3 separate regions of the Homo sapiens genome follow, and all the other regions are linked to region 3. The links are contacts of gene promoters, found by promoter capture Hi-C in blood cells and fetal thymus (Javierre and others, 2016). All regions are on one chromosome and are shown on one strand. The core of a region is centred on a gene start or on the middle of the fragment in contact, and the rest is flanking DNA. Distances in the headings are between cores, read along the strand shown. Region 1 overlaps TUBA1B-AS1 (TUBA1B antisense RNA 1). Region 2 has its middle 35 kb from the start of TUBA1C. Region 3 holds the start of TUBA1A (tubulin alpha 1a).

The links. The method cuts DNA at HindIII sites, captures the fragments that hold promoters and counts their contacts. A CHiCAGO score of 5 or more calls a contact.
Region 1: a fragment that was not itself captured here is called in contact with the fragment with the promoter of TUBA1A in region 3 in 1 of 17 cell types (erythroblasts); the score reaches 5.2 in erythroblasts.
Region 2: a fragment that was not itself captured here is called in contact with the fragment with the promoter of TUBA1A in region 3 in 2 of 17 cell types (M2 macrophages and monocytes); the score reaches 5.6 in M2 macrophages.

Annotation. Positions count from the first base shown.
Region 1 is chr12:49,137,993-49,142,089 of GRCh38, reverse strand. The region is part of intron 1 of TUBA1B-AS1 (TUBA1B antisense RNA 1); the gene reads right to left. Among named protein-coding and RNA genes, the nearest start is that of TUBA1B-AS1, 8.4 kb to the right of the region's middle. The HindIII fragment of the contact is 3,167 bases long and covers 546-3,712 here.
Region 2 is chr12:49,228,305-49,232,389 of GRCh38, reverse strand. It overlaps a transcript of TUBA1C not described here. Among named protein-coding and RNA genes, the nearest start is that of TUBA1C, 35 kb to the left of the region's middle. The HindIII fragment of the contact is 1,619 bases long and covers 463-2,081 here.
Region 3 is chr12:49,187,363-49,191,350 of GRCh38, reverse strand. TUBA1A (tubulin alpha 1a) reads left to right here and starts at 2,271. Exons shown (of 4, transcript NM_006009.4): 1 at 2,271-2,374. The coding sequence starts at 2,372. RefSeq lists enhancers at 2,383-2,502, 2,001-2,592. The HindIII fragment of the contact is 8,438 bases long and covers 1-3,988 here.

The DNA of each region.
Region 1 (4,097 bases), core at 880-3,379, 49 kb after region 3:
TCTCAAAAAAAAAAGAAAGAAAAAGAAAAGATCAATTAATAAAATCCATCAGATCAGCAGTCTAAAGAAGAAAAAGGCCAGGTGCAGTGGCTCATGCCTGCAATCCCAGGACTTTGGGAGGCCGAGACAAGCAGATGGCTTAAGGTCAGGAGTTCAAGACCAGCCTGGCCAACATGGTGAAACCCTGCATCTGCTAAAAATAAAAAAAATTTGCCAGGTGTGGTGGCGTGCGTCTATAATCCCAGCTAATCCAGTGGCTGAGGCACGAGAATTGTTTGTACCAGGGAGGTGGAGGTTGCAGTGAGCCAAGATGGTGCCACTGCACTCCATTCTGGGCAACAGAGCAAAACTGTTTAAAAAAGAAAAAAGAAAGAAAAATCACATAATCATATCAACATATGCAGAAGAAGCATATGACAAAATCCAACACTCATTCATGATAAACTCTCTTGATAAACTTAGAGGGGAACTTTCTCGTCTTGATCAAGAATGTCTACAAAATCCCTACAGCTAACACTATACTTAAAAGTGAGAAATTAGAAGCTTTCTCACTAAGATTAGGAACAGGCAAGCATGTCCCTTCTCACGACTCCAGCAAGACTTATTTTATTCACTGTTATATCAACCCAGCACTTATAAGGAGTACCTGCCATGGTAAGCTCTCAATACTTGTCCAATAAGTAAATAAATAAAAATAGACACCATACTGTTTTCTCTATATTTAATACAATGGACACTTTCTAGTCTTTACCCTATTTAACCTGCAGGATTTGACACTGCAGCATTTGACACTGTACTCGCTTGAAACTCTTTACTTGGATCGTAAAACCCCCAGTTCTTCCTCTTTGATCATTCTTTCTCAGACTCCTTTTGTTTATTTGTTTATTTATTTTTGAAACGGAGTCTCGCTTAGCCGCCCAGGCTGGAGTGCAGTGGTGCGATCTCAGGTCACTGCAACCACTGTCTCCCAGGTTCAAGTGATTCTTCAGTCTCAGCCTCTTGAGTAGCTGGGATTACAGGCACCTGCCATCATGCCCAGCTTTAGTAGAGATGGGGTTTCAGCATGTTGGCCAGGCTGGTCTTGAACTCCTGACCTCAGGTGATCCACCTGCCTTGGCCTCCCAAAGTGCTAGGATTATTGCGACCGGCTCAGACTCCATTTTTTTTTTTTTTTTTTTTTTTTGAGACAGTCTCGCTCTGTTACCCAGGCTGGAGTGCAGTGGCACAATCTCGGTTCACTGCAACCTCCGCCTCCTGGGTTCAAGCAATTCTCCTGACTCAGCCTCCTGAGTAGCAGGGACTACAAGTGCACGCCACCATGCCTGGCTAATTTTTGTATTTTTTTAGTAGAGACGGGGTTTCACATGTTGGTCAGGATGGTCTTGATCTCCTGATCTTGCGATCCACCTGTCTCGGCCTTCCAAAGTGCTGGGATTACAGGCATGAGCCACCATGCCCAGCCACTTTTTTTTTTTTTTTTTTGAGATGGAGTCTCACTGTTGTTGCCCAGGCTGGAGTGCAATGGCGCAACCTCAGCCTCCTGGGTTCAAGTGCTTCTCCTGTCTCAGCCTCCCAAGTAGCTGGGATTACAAGCATGCGCCACCATGCCCGGCTAATTTTGTATTTTTAGTAGAGATGGGGTTTCTCCATGTTGCTCAGGCTGGTCTCGATCTCCTGACCTCAGGTGATCCGCCTGCCTTGGGCTCCCAAAGTGCTGCAATTACAGGCGTGAGCCACTGTGCCCAGCCCCAGACTCCTTTTATAAGCTCATTTTCTCCACTTTAAATGTGATCATTCTTTCAATTCCTTACTAAGGCCAGGTTCTCTATCTACTTCAGGGTTCTCTATTAATACCACCACGTTCAGCCGGGAACGGTGGCTCACGCCTGTAATCCCAGCACTTTGGGAGGCCAAGGCGGGTGGATCATGAGGTCAGGAGTTCCAGACCAGCCTGGCCAACATGGTGAAACCTTGTCTACATTAAAAATTCAAAAATTAGCTGGGCACGATGGCAAGCACCTGTAATCCCAGCTACTTCGGAGGCTGAGGCAGGAGAATTGCTTGAACCCAGGTAGCAGAGGTTGCAGTGAGCCGAGATTTCACCACTGCACTCCAGCCTGGGTGACAGAGTGAGACTCCGTATCAAAAAGAAAAAAAAAAAAAAAGAAAGAAAAGCACTACTTTCCTAGCTCTACACATTCCCCCTGAGAGGTCTTACCATTCCCGTAGTTTAATTACCATTTTAATACTGAAGGTTCAAAATCTGTCTCTCTCTCCCCTCTCCATATCTGCAAGTATGTCTGCCTAATGGACATCTCTAAGCATATGTACTACCGACACTTAAACCTCAAAATGTGTTAAAAACTGACCTTTTCTTACTTCCCGCCCACTTCTTTCTTCAATATTTTGATCTCAGTGAAAAGCACCACGATTCACGTGGTTATTTAAATGAGAAACCTTTGCTGGTCGCAGTGGTTCACATCTGTAATCCCAGCACTTTGGGAGGCCGAGGTGGGCGGATAGCTTGAAGTCAAGATTTCGAGACCTGCCTGGCCAACATGGTGAAACCCGGTCTCTACTAAAAATACAAAAATTAACCAGGCGTGGTAGCACATATCTGTAATCCCAGCTACCTGGGAGGCTGAGGCAGGAGAATCACTTGAACCTGGGAGGCAGAGGTTGCAGTGAGCCAAGATCGTGCCACTGCACTCTAGCCTGGGAAACAGAGTGAGACTCTGTCTCAAAAATAAATAAATAGATAGATAGATAGATAAATAAAATAAATGAGAAACCTACAAAATAACCTCCATTCCTTACTTTACCTCACAACCCATATCCAATCAATCACAAGGTTCAATATTAAACAAAAATTACATATTAAGCACCTACTATGTGCCAGGTATTGTTCTTGTCTCTAGGGATAAAGCCTGCTTGCATTGGCTTACATTATAAGGACATTTACTGTTTCCTTTATTCATTAATATTTATTTAGTTTCTTTAATTTATTATTTAATTAATAAATGTGGAGATAGGTTGGTTTTAAGGTTAGGTCGATAGCTTCACAATATCAGACCACTGCACTGAACTGGCATCTTTATGATTCTCTTTGCATTAGACCCTCAAGGACTGAAGTTGGCTCTAGGCATCATATCTTCAAAGAACATTTCCAAAGGCAGAAAGCAAAGGGAGAGGGGTGAAACAAAAGGGACTTCCTCAACGGGGTAATCTCTTTTTATCAGAGAAGAAAATCATTCCCAGAAAGTCCTCAGCTGACTTGCCTCTTTATGTCCCATTGGTCAGAATCAGGTCCAATCATGAAGGAAACTGAAAAAGCAAGTATCTGGCAAAGGGAAACAAGGTTGCATTTATTTGTCCCCGGGGACTGAGCACACAAATACCCTTTAAACAGTGGCAGATAAAGGAGGCTGTCTTAGCAAGGAGGAATGGAAGAAGGTAGTTTTTGGAAGGGCAACCAAGACTGACTTCCACAAAAAGAGACATGGAGTTTACATAAAAGAAGAAACTTTAAACAAGTAAATAAATGTACAAACAAGGTAATTTCAGATTCTGTAAGAGCTGTGAAATAAGAGTGGTGTGATAAAAAGTAGTGGGCATATTTTGAAAGTAAATTGACAACATGAACTAATGGGACTGAATGTATGAGAAAAAGGTGATTCCAAGTTAACACTGATTCCCATTCATAAATGAAGCTTGAGAAAGATAATTAAGGGTCTAAGGTCATACCACTATTAACTGACAAAGCTAGAATTGAATCTAGTCCTATCTGACACCACCGAAGTCAATTTTCTATTTTTTTCCCTTTTTTTTTTGGTTTTTTTTTTTTTTTTTTTTTGAGATAGAGTCTCACTCTGTCACCCAGGCTGGAGTGCAGTAGCATGATCTCTGCTCACTGCAACCTCCACCTCCTGGGTTCAAGCGATTCTCGTGCCTTGGCTTCCCAAGTAGCTGGGATTATAGCCACGTGCCACCAGGGCCAACTAATTTTTGTATTTTTAGTAGACGGGGTTTCGCCATGTTGGCCAGGCTGATCTCTAACTACTGGCCTCAAGTGATCCACCCGCCTCGGCCTCCCAAAG
Region 2 (4,085 bases), core at 23-2,522, 42 kb before region 3:
AGTTGGAATTTCATGTTGGGCAGGCTGCAATGAGTTCATATCCAAACAGAAAATGGGTTCTGTGGGTCAGAGAAAGCTTACTGTGCTGAGAAGGACAAGGTGGACATTTTGTAAATACTATAGGTTTATTTCCGGGGAATTTATCCGCAAAAATGAGGTTGCTTCATTCCCTTCACACAGCATCCTCAGGCCCTTTCAGACAGTTTCTGCTCTTTGGATTTCATCTGCTTGCTAAATATCCACTCCTGTTGTGTCCAGAACAAGGGACTATCTGCAGGTTACTGTGAAAGCAAGCGTTGGGTGGCCCTGAGGGCAGCTCCTCCCAATCAGCTCTTGTCCTCCTTCTGTCAGGCCCTCTGGAGGAAATGAGAGCCACCCCCAGCCAGGAAATCAGCCCAGCATTAGCGTTTAGGGATAGATGATCTAATGGCTCAGGTTCTATAGGTGACGTTCAGGCAAGCTTCTACAATAATTCTGAAGCTAGACACAGAACATATGAGCAGGTGTCCAAGAATTATGGATGCCTCTGAAAGTAACAGAAGGCCAGGCGCAGTGGTGCATGCCTGTAATCCTAGCCCTTCAGGAGGCTGAGATGGGAGGATCAATTGAGGCCAGGAGTTCGAGACCAGCCTAGTCAACATAGCGAGACTCCATCTATCTATCTATCTATCTGTCTGTCTGTCTGTCTGTCTATCTATCTATCTATCATCTATTTTTTTTAAGTAGCAGAAGTTTAAAGAAAAATAGCCATGGCACATACGTTCACAATACTACGCCGTGTTCTCTCCAGTGTTAAGGAGATTAAATTTAAAAGTTGTAAGCACTTTGAGGGCAAGAGCCCTGTTTCGCACTTCCTTTATATTTCGCACAGTGCCCAGCAAGGTATTACACATGCAGTGGTCACTCGGAATACTTAAAAAAGAAATTAGTGCTGGCTCACACCTGTAATCCCAGCACTTTGGGAGGCTGAGGTGGGAGGATTGCTTGAGCCCAGGAGTATGAGACCAGTCTGGGCAACACAAGATCCTATATCTACAAAAATTTTTTAAAAATTAGAGCTGGGAGTGGTGGTGCATGCCCGTAGTTAGTCCCAACTCCTTGGGAGGGTGAGACAGGAGGATCACTTGAGCCCAGGAGTTTAAGGCTGTAGTGAGCTATAATTGCACCATTGCACTACAGCCTGGGCAATAGAATGAGACCCTGACTATAAAAAACAACAATTAAAAAATAATGATGGACTAATGGAACAACAAACAGCTGTGCTCTGAGATTAAGCCTGTTTTTATTGTCACTTCTGAGGAAGCTAGACAGTGATACTTTATAGCCAGAAAACAGAAGTGGAGATGGTGCAACCTTTCTAAATAACAATGACAGCAGCTGACCTTCCTGTATACCAGAAACGATACTAAGTTCTTTTCATACATTATCTCATTTATATCTGACCACACCCCACAGACTTAAGTATTACTATTAGGATTACGCTTATTTTCCAGATGACAAAACATTACCCAAGTCACACCGCTAGTAAGTGTCCACATCAGGACTTGAGTCCAGCTCTCAGTCAGTTTCCAATGCTTTCAGGCAAAATCCTGCACCAGAACATCTCATGATGACCTCCATAGCTCCATTTATTAACCACCCTGCTTTGAGCCTTGCAACCTAATATCTGAAGTGAGAGGGATAGTCCTTCAGAGCAAACGAGCTCAAATAAAATTTAAAAAGCAATACATGATTTGAGAGGGAGAGGGAAAAGGGTCAGCACAGGCACAATTCATAACGGAACATGTCGCAGTATGCCTGGGCTTGATGTCTTCTCCTGTGCATTTTCTAGTTTAATCCCCATGGCACCCTGTGGAGGATGTTATTGTTATCTCATATATAAGGAATAAATGTCTGGAGAACAGCTGGGCTCAAGAAAAAGGTAAATGCTCAAATATTCAGAGGCAGAGAGGGAACGAATCTACTGATAACACTGTACCTGCCCCAGGCCTCTCACTTGGGCTCACAGTACTGGCGTGGGCGTGTCTCACCTTTCCTTCTTCTCCTATGTTTTTAGTAACACTCCAGCCAGCCAGAAAGCTTGCACCTGTCTCTCCCTGCCCCATAAATACAAATATGGTTAAATGTTGACTTGTATGCCATTAAACCATTTCAAAAGCACAGATGAGGTCAAGAGAAAACAGTACAAGTCATTATGCATGGAATGCTATGTAAGAGTTAAATAGAATGAATTAGATTTAAGCATACTGCCAGGTAAAGATCTCCACAAGGCATAGACTGTTCTAAAAAAGAAAAAAAAAAAAAAGGCCAGGATGTTGACTTATGCCTGTAATCCCGGCACTTTGGGAGGCCAAGGCAAGCAGATCACGAAGTCAGGAGTTTGAGACCTGCCTGGCCAACATGGTGAAACCTTGTCTCTATTAAAAATACAAAAATTAGCCAGGTATGGTGGTACACGCCTATAGTCCCAGCTACTAGGGAGGCTGAGGCAGGAGAATCGCTTGAACCCAGGAGGCAGAGGTTGTAGTAAGCCTATACTGTGCCATTGCAGCCTGGGCGACAGAGCAAGACTCCATCTCAAAAAATAAAATAATGAAATAAATTTAAAAAGAAAAAAAAAGCAAGTTAAGAATAAAAAGCACAACATGGCACCATTTATCTCTTAAAAAGTCACACAAAACAATGTGATGTGCACACACACACACACACACACACCTCTATGCAAACAGGTAAGAAATAGTTGGTTACACCCCCAAATTGTTAACAGGGGTTTCTTTGGGGAGAGGACTGGGTTTGGGGTGAAGTGAGCAGTACCGGCAGACTTTTCCTTTGTCTTTTTACAAGATAATTTATTCGTATAAGGGGTATGTAAAGAAAGAAAGGACAGAAAAGAAACAAGTGATGCTGTTAAAAAATAGACTGGGTGTGGTGGCTCACGCCTGTAATGCCAGCACTTTGGGAGGCCAAGGCGGGCGGATCACCTGAGGTCAGGAGTTCAAGATCAGCCTGGCCAAGATGGTGAAACCCTGTCTCTACTAAAAATACAAAAATTAGCTGGGCATGGTGGTGCACAGCTGTAATCCTAGTTATTCGGGAGGCTGAGGCAAAGAATTGCTTGAACCCAGGAGGCAGAGGTTGCAGTGAGCCGAGATTATGCCACTGCACTCCAGCCTGGGCGACAGGGTGAGACTCTGTCACACGCACGCAAAAAAGATAAAGGTTCGCAACATGCAGTAAAGTGGGGAAAGTGATACAAATACACCAAGCTAAAATCCACCGCCTCCTTCATGTCCAGGGAAGACCAATAGATTAGAGGAGTGTCCTCATGTTGACATTATTAATACTTTAATGATTTTCTAAATTTAATGTCTCCTGTGTCTACCAGAAATATATTCCTGAGAAGTTCAATAGACTTGGAAGCAGACCACCTGGGTTCAAGGCCCGACTGCCTTTCTCTGTAACCTTGGGCTGGTTTCTCAAAGCCTTAGTTTCCTTATCTGCAGAGTGGAGAGGATAGTAACACACTTCACAGGGTGCCCTGAGGATTAAATGAGATAACGCATAGGAAAAGCCATCCAAACCTGGGGAACAGAGACTTGTAAATTGCAGATTGTGTTAGCGCCTACTCTCTTCCCATTCTCTCCCTCCCACTTCACAGAATTGTTTTTCCTCACACCTTTAAGATGTCTGAGTATCCCACACTAAAGTAGAGTAAAATTAATAAATCATTCTTTAGTATAATATTTGCTGATAACAGGCCTCTTGTAATTTGAGACTTTAGATTCTGCAGATGCATGGTTTTTAGGCTTCAATAGCCTGTATTCATGCATGTATTTTAAGGGATATGCTCATTTGATTCCATTTATAAAATATGCCTCTTCCCTGTGCAACCCACTTTTGATTCAGAAACTAAAATATTCAAATCAGGGAGGCCATTTAAAGTATAAGACAAAAATATAATTAATGTGTTTTGCATCTGAAAATATGTCTATTTGTGGTCCTAATAAAACTTCAGACTGCTCTGAAATTTCAATATTCCAATAATAAGCCTTATAATAAAAAGGATTGCAGAAATAATAAGATAA
Region 3 (3,988 bases), core at 1,022-3,521:
TAATAAAGAACAAAAATTATAGATTAGTTATTTCCCCGATCTCTTGTTTATATATTTGAGATTATCAGTGCCTAAATAGTCTATTTCTGACCTAGATCTTGTTACATATGCCCAAGCGGAGGGAATAACCCTCATTTACATAAGGAACAGAATGGCTCTGAGATAGAATTTCAAAGAATCAACCACGTGAACCCTCCTCTCTTTTATTTAATCCTTTGGAAATTGCATAAAGAACTGAGACTATTGGATAAGTGACATATTTCTTAATTAATCTTTTTATATTGTAAAGAAAATAATGTTCAAACTCTGCTTCTCATTCCAAAAAGACTTGTACATGTTACTATAGTCCAATAGTGTCTGATATATTTTATTATTAAAATTGTGAAAGTATTTTGAATGAGCTACTTATTAATCCTTATGCTTCCTTATGCCATTTAATTCTTATTTTTGTTAAATATATTTCTGGGTTCTGAAAGAAGCATTCAAATACCTAATCCTCCTGTCTCTTCTGAAATATACTTTTTTTTTTTTTTTGCTAAAGAAGTGGAGATAAGATGATGTTGAGGATTATTTTTTCCTAGGAAATATACAATAAGTAGATAAAATGATTTTTGCATTTTGGATATTATTTTTTTTCCAGAGAATATTACTGAAGCAAAATTGATCAAGTAAAGCAGAACTGTGGATGGCAGGCTAGAAAAATCTGTGGTCGCCATTGTCACACCACAACCTGCAGCAGCTGTATTCTCAAGTCCCTCCCTCCCACGCCCTTCTTAGCCTGCCAGCCTAGCAGGAATGAATGGGTTCCGCAGAGCACTGTGTGAGTAGTGCTGCAGACCCTGAAAATTTGTCTCTGAAAACCAAAAGGAAAAATTATTTGTAAAAAATAAATTTTCAACTTTAGTGGCCAAACTTATTTACCTCTGAAATTTCATCACCAACATCCAGTGGTACGAAGTCCAGTGACTTACTCCGGATCGTTGCTGAGAATGGAGGCTTCCTAAATATCAAGATAATTTTACTCCAATTTATTTCCTAGGGGTGAAAGCAAAGCCTTTTTGTCCCAAGGGACAACTGAGCAACCACCAGAGTCTCTAGCTGAACAGCAAGGGTGTGAGGCCGGCTAAAATTCCCACAGTTAGAAGCCCACTCGCAGGAGGATATTTACCAAATTGACATAAGAACTACATAAAAAGGAAATGCGTTTATTGAGCTGATGTTTCACAGTTGTCTGTGGATGGAGGCGACATTGCAAAATTCTTTTTACATTATATTATTCTCTTCTTCTTTTTAATTTGGTGTATTGGTTATTACTATTATTTTGCTTGTTACTTTCCAGACAAAAGTCCAATTCAGATATGTAACTGCACACATGTAGTACTAACTTCTGAGCTCAATTATTTCTCCTTGTATTTTCCCAATTTTCTATCAGGAAAGATGATTCATTCCAAAGGACAATGTACCATACAAAATGTGTTACATAGACTTCTCATAAAAGAATACCTCTAGTAAACCATTATAACTACTCTACGTTCACTTGCTCTTGATTATTGCCATGTTAGAACTATTTGTTCGCTTCTTTATTTAATATGGTTATTCTTTCCATCTTCCAGTTTTGTTTAGCTATTCGGGTGTGCGTGTGCCTGCAGAAGAAGCTCTGAAAATAAGTTAGTTGAACCTGAGAAACCATTTGGAATGACCGTATGGCTAAATCTTTTTTTAAATTAAAAAAATCACATATACCCAGGCCATTTCGAGCATCATGCCGATTTTCCCTCCCACTTTACGTTTAAAGCAATTAGAGATGTTGAACCCTAACAAAATGTAGTCGAGTTTAATATACTACGAGGGAGGGGCTGGCAGTCATTTTCCTTTAAATATTTAATCTAAACATAAATTGTTATTAAGGGTAGGGGGAAAAAACCTCACATAGATAATTTTAACTGCAGTTTGAGGTTTAAGCAACAGAAAGTCTTCTAACCCCAGTCCCCTTTCTTCTCCTTCCGCCCCTCCCCAACCCCGCCCCATAATGGATGCTCGGCCGACTGCTTCTGCACGGTCTCTTTGTCTAAAGGATGCAAACAGTCTACGGATGCTAGAGAAAAAGGGGTGGGGGAGAGATTACCTCATCCCACGTCGCTTGCACCAATCACCAGTCTCCTGTCATGGCTTCTCTGGGCAGATTGGGGGTCTGGACCAACAGGAAAAGGCCCCGGCCCATCCCCATGGTGACCGAGTTGTATATAGGGAGCCGCATCCGCCTATGTGCCGCAGGTTCTCTTACATCGACCGCCTAAGAGTCGCGCTGTAAGAAGCAACAACCTCTCCTCTTCGTCTCCGCCATCAGCTCGGCAGTCGCGAAGCAGCAACCATGGTGAGAATCGGCTTCGGCTCTTTGTGGCCGTTGGGTGGAGTCAGCGCCCCCAGGCTCTACTTGGAAAACCTTTAAGCTCTTTTCTTTCGTAAGCTCTCTGGGCGAGGGTGGTGGTATGTTTTGTGAGGTTTAGCTTAGCCCCAAATCCTCAAGCCCCGCCGCCGCCGCAGTGCGGGTGCAGGAACCGGGCCAGTACTGCGCCCAGGGCGCAGCAGAGCGCTGGGGAGGAACAAAGGCGGCGCCTAGGCGCCTGTGTTATCCGAGAGACTTTCGGGGGCCGCGGGCAGCCCGTCTGCCGCGACCGAGGGGTCTGGGGCGTCCCGGCTGGGCCCCGTGTCTGTGCGCACGGTTTCGCTGATGCTGAGGGGCCACTTTCTGTCTCGCGTTGTTCTCTGGGGACCGGGAGAGGAGGAGGCACCCAAAAAGAGCGGGGGCGTTGGGCGAGCTGGGGGACGTGGGAGGGGGAACGGGAACAAAGCGCAGCCTAGGGTTAGCGTGGGAAGACCCTCCGCGGTCTTTGGCGTTTTGGAAAGATACCCACACATTCCCGGGAAAACATGGTGAGTTTCTGCCGGAGCCCCCGGCAGCGGGTGTCAGGGCGGCGCAGGGGCGGGGTTGTTTGTTTCTGGCTTCTATGGCGTTGGAGCCACTGGGCGGGGTTCGCCCTCACTGAACCTCTTCTGTCAGGAGCTGACTGAAAAAAAAACAAAAAAACCTTTCATCATTGCGGAACTGTAGGCTCCAAAAGGGTTTTCTTCACTATTATAAGTTAGATGACTTTTTTTTTTCTTGAGCAAAATCATAATTCACTTCACAAGCTCTTTAATGTCTGGTCTGGGGACGCCCTGCCCTGACCGACTGAAGTGTGTGTGTGTGTGTGTGTGTGTGTGTGTGTGTGTCTGTGGGACGCCCTGCCCTGACCGACTGAAGTGTGTGTGTGTGTGTGTGTGTGTCTGTCTGTCTGTCTGGACTGCACGTTCAGCGAGGGAGAAAGCCCACTTTGTGAGCCCCAGGGTACCCTGATGGTCAGGACCCAGGGAAACGCCCTTCCCCGCCGCCCCCCCGCCCCGCCCCCACCACATCAGCGAATAGACAATGAAAGTGGTAGCCCTAAAGACCACAGAGAAGAAAACCTCTATTGGATGCAAAGAATATGAATATTATGTGATGGGTAGAGAATCTCAGGATGAAAATACTATTTTGTTGTTTTAAATAAATATTTCATTATCCTTCCACTGGGCTTTTATTCTTTGGTACCTTTTCATGTGATGCTTGTTTCTAACTTAGGAACTTTTGTGTGTGTGTGTGTTAAGATACGGATAATTTTTCAGCTTTTACAGTGGAGAAGATCTGGAAAAACCTTTTTTTTTAAAAAAAAAAGTAATGAAATTGCTACAGACAAAGAAGAATTATACTCCGCATCCCGTTGTCTTTTGTTCCAGTGCATCTTAATTAATTCATTTCAATTCAGGCACATGGTCCCGGGCGGGGTCAGAGGAGGAAAACTGGCAAAACAGCACAATGAGATCATGTAGGCAGCTGCTGGAAATAGAGCTTGCTCTGTTAAATAATGTAGCAGACAGTACAGGCTAGCACCAGGCACAGCAAATACAG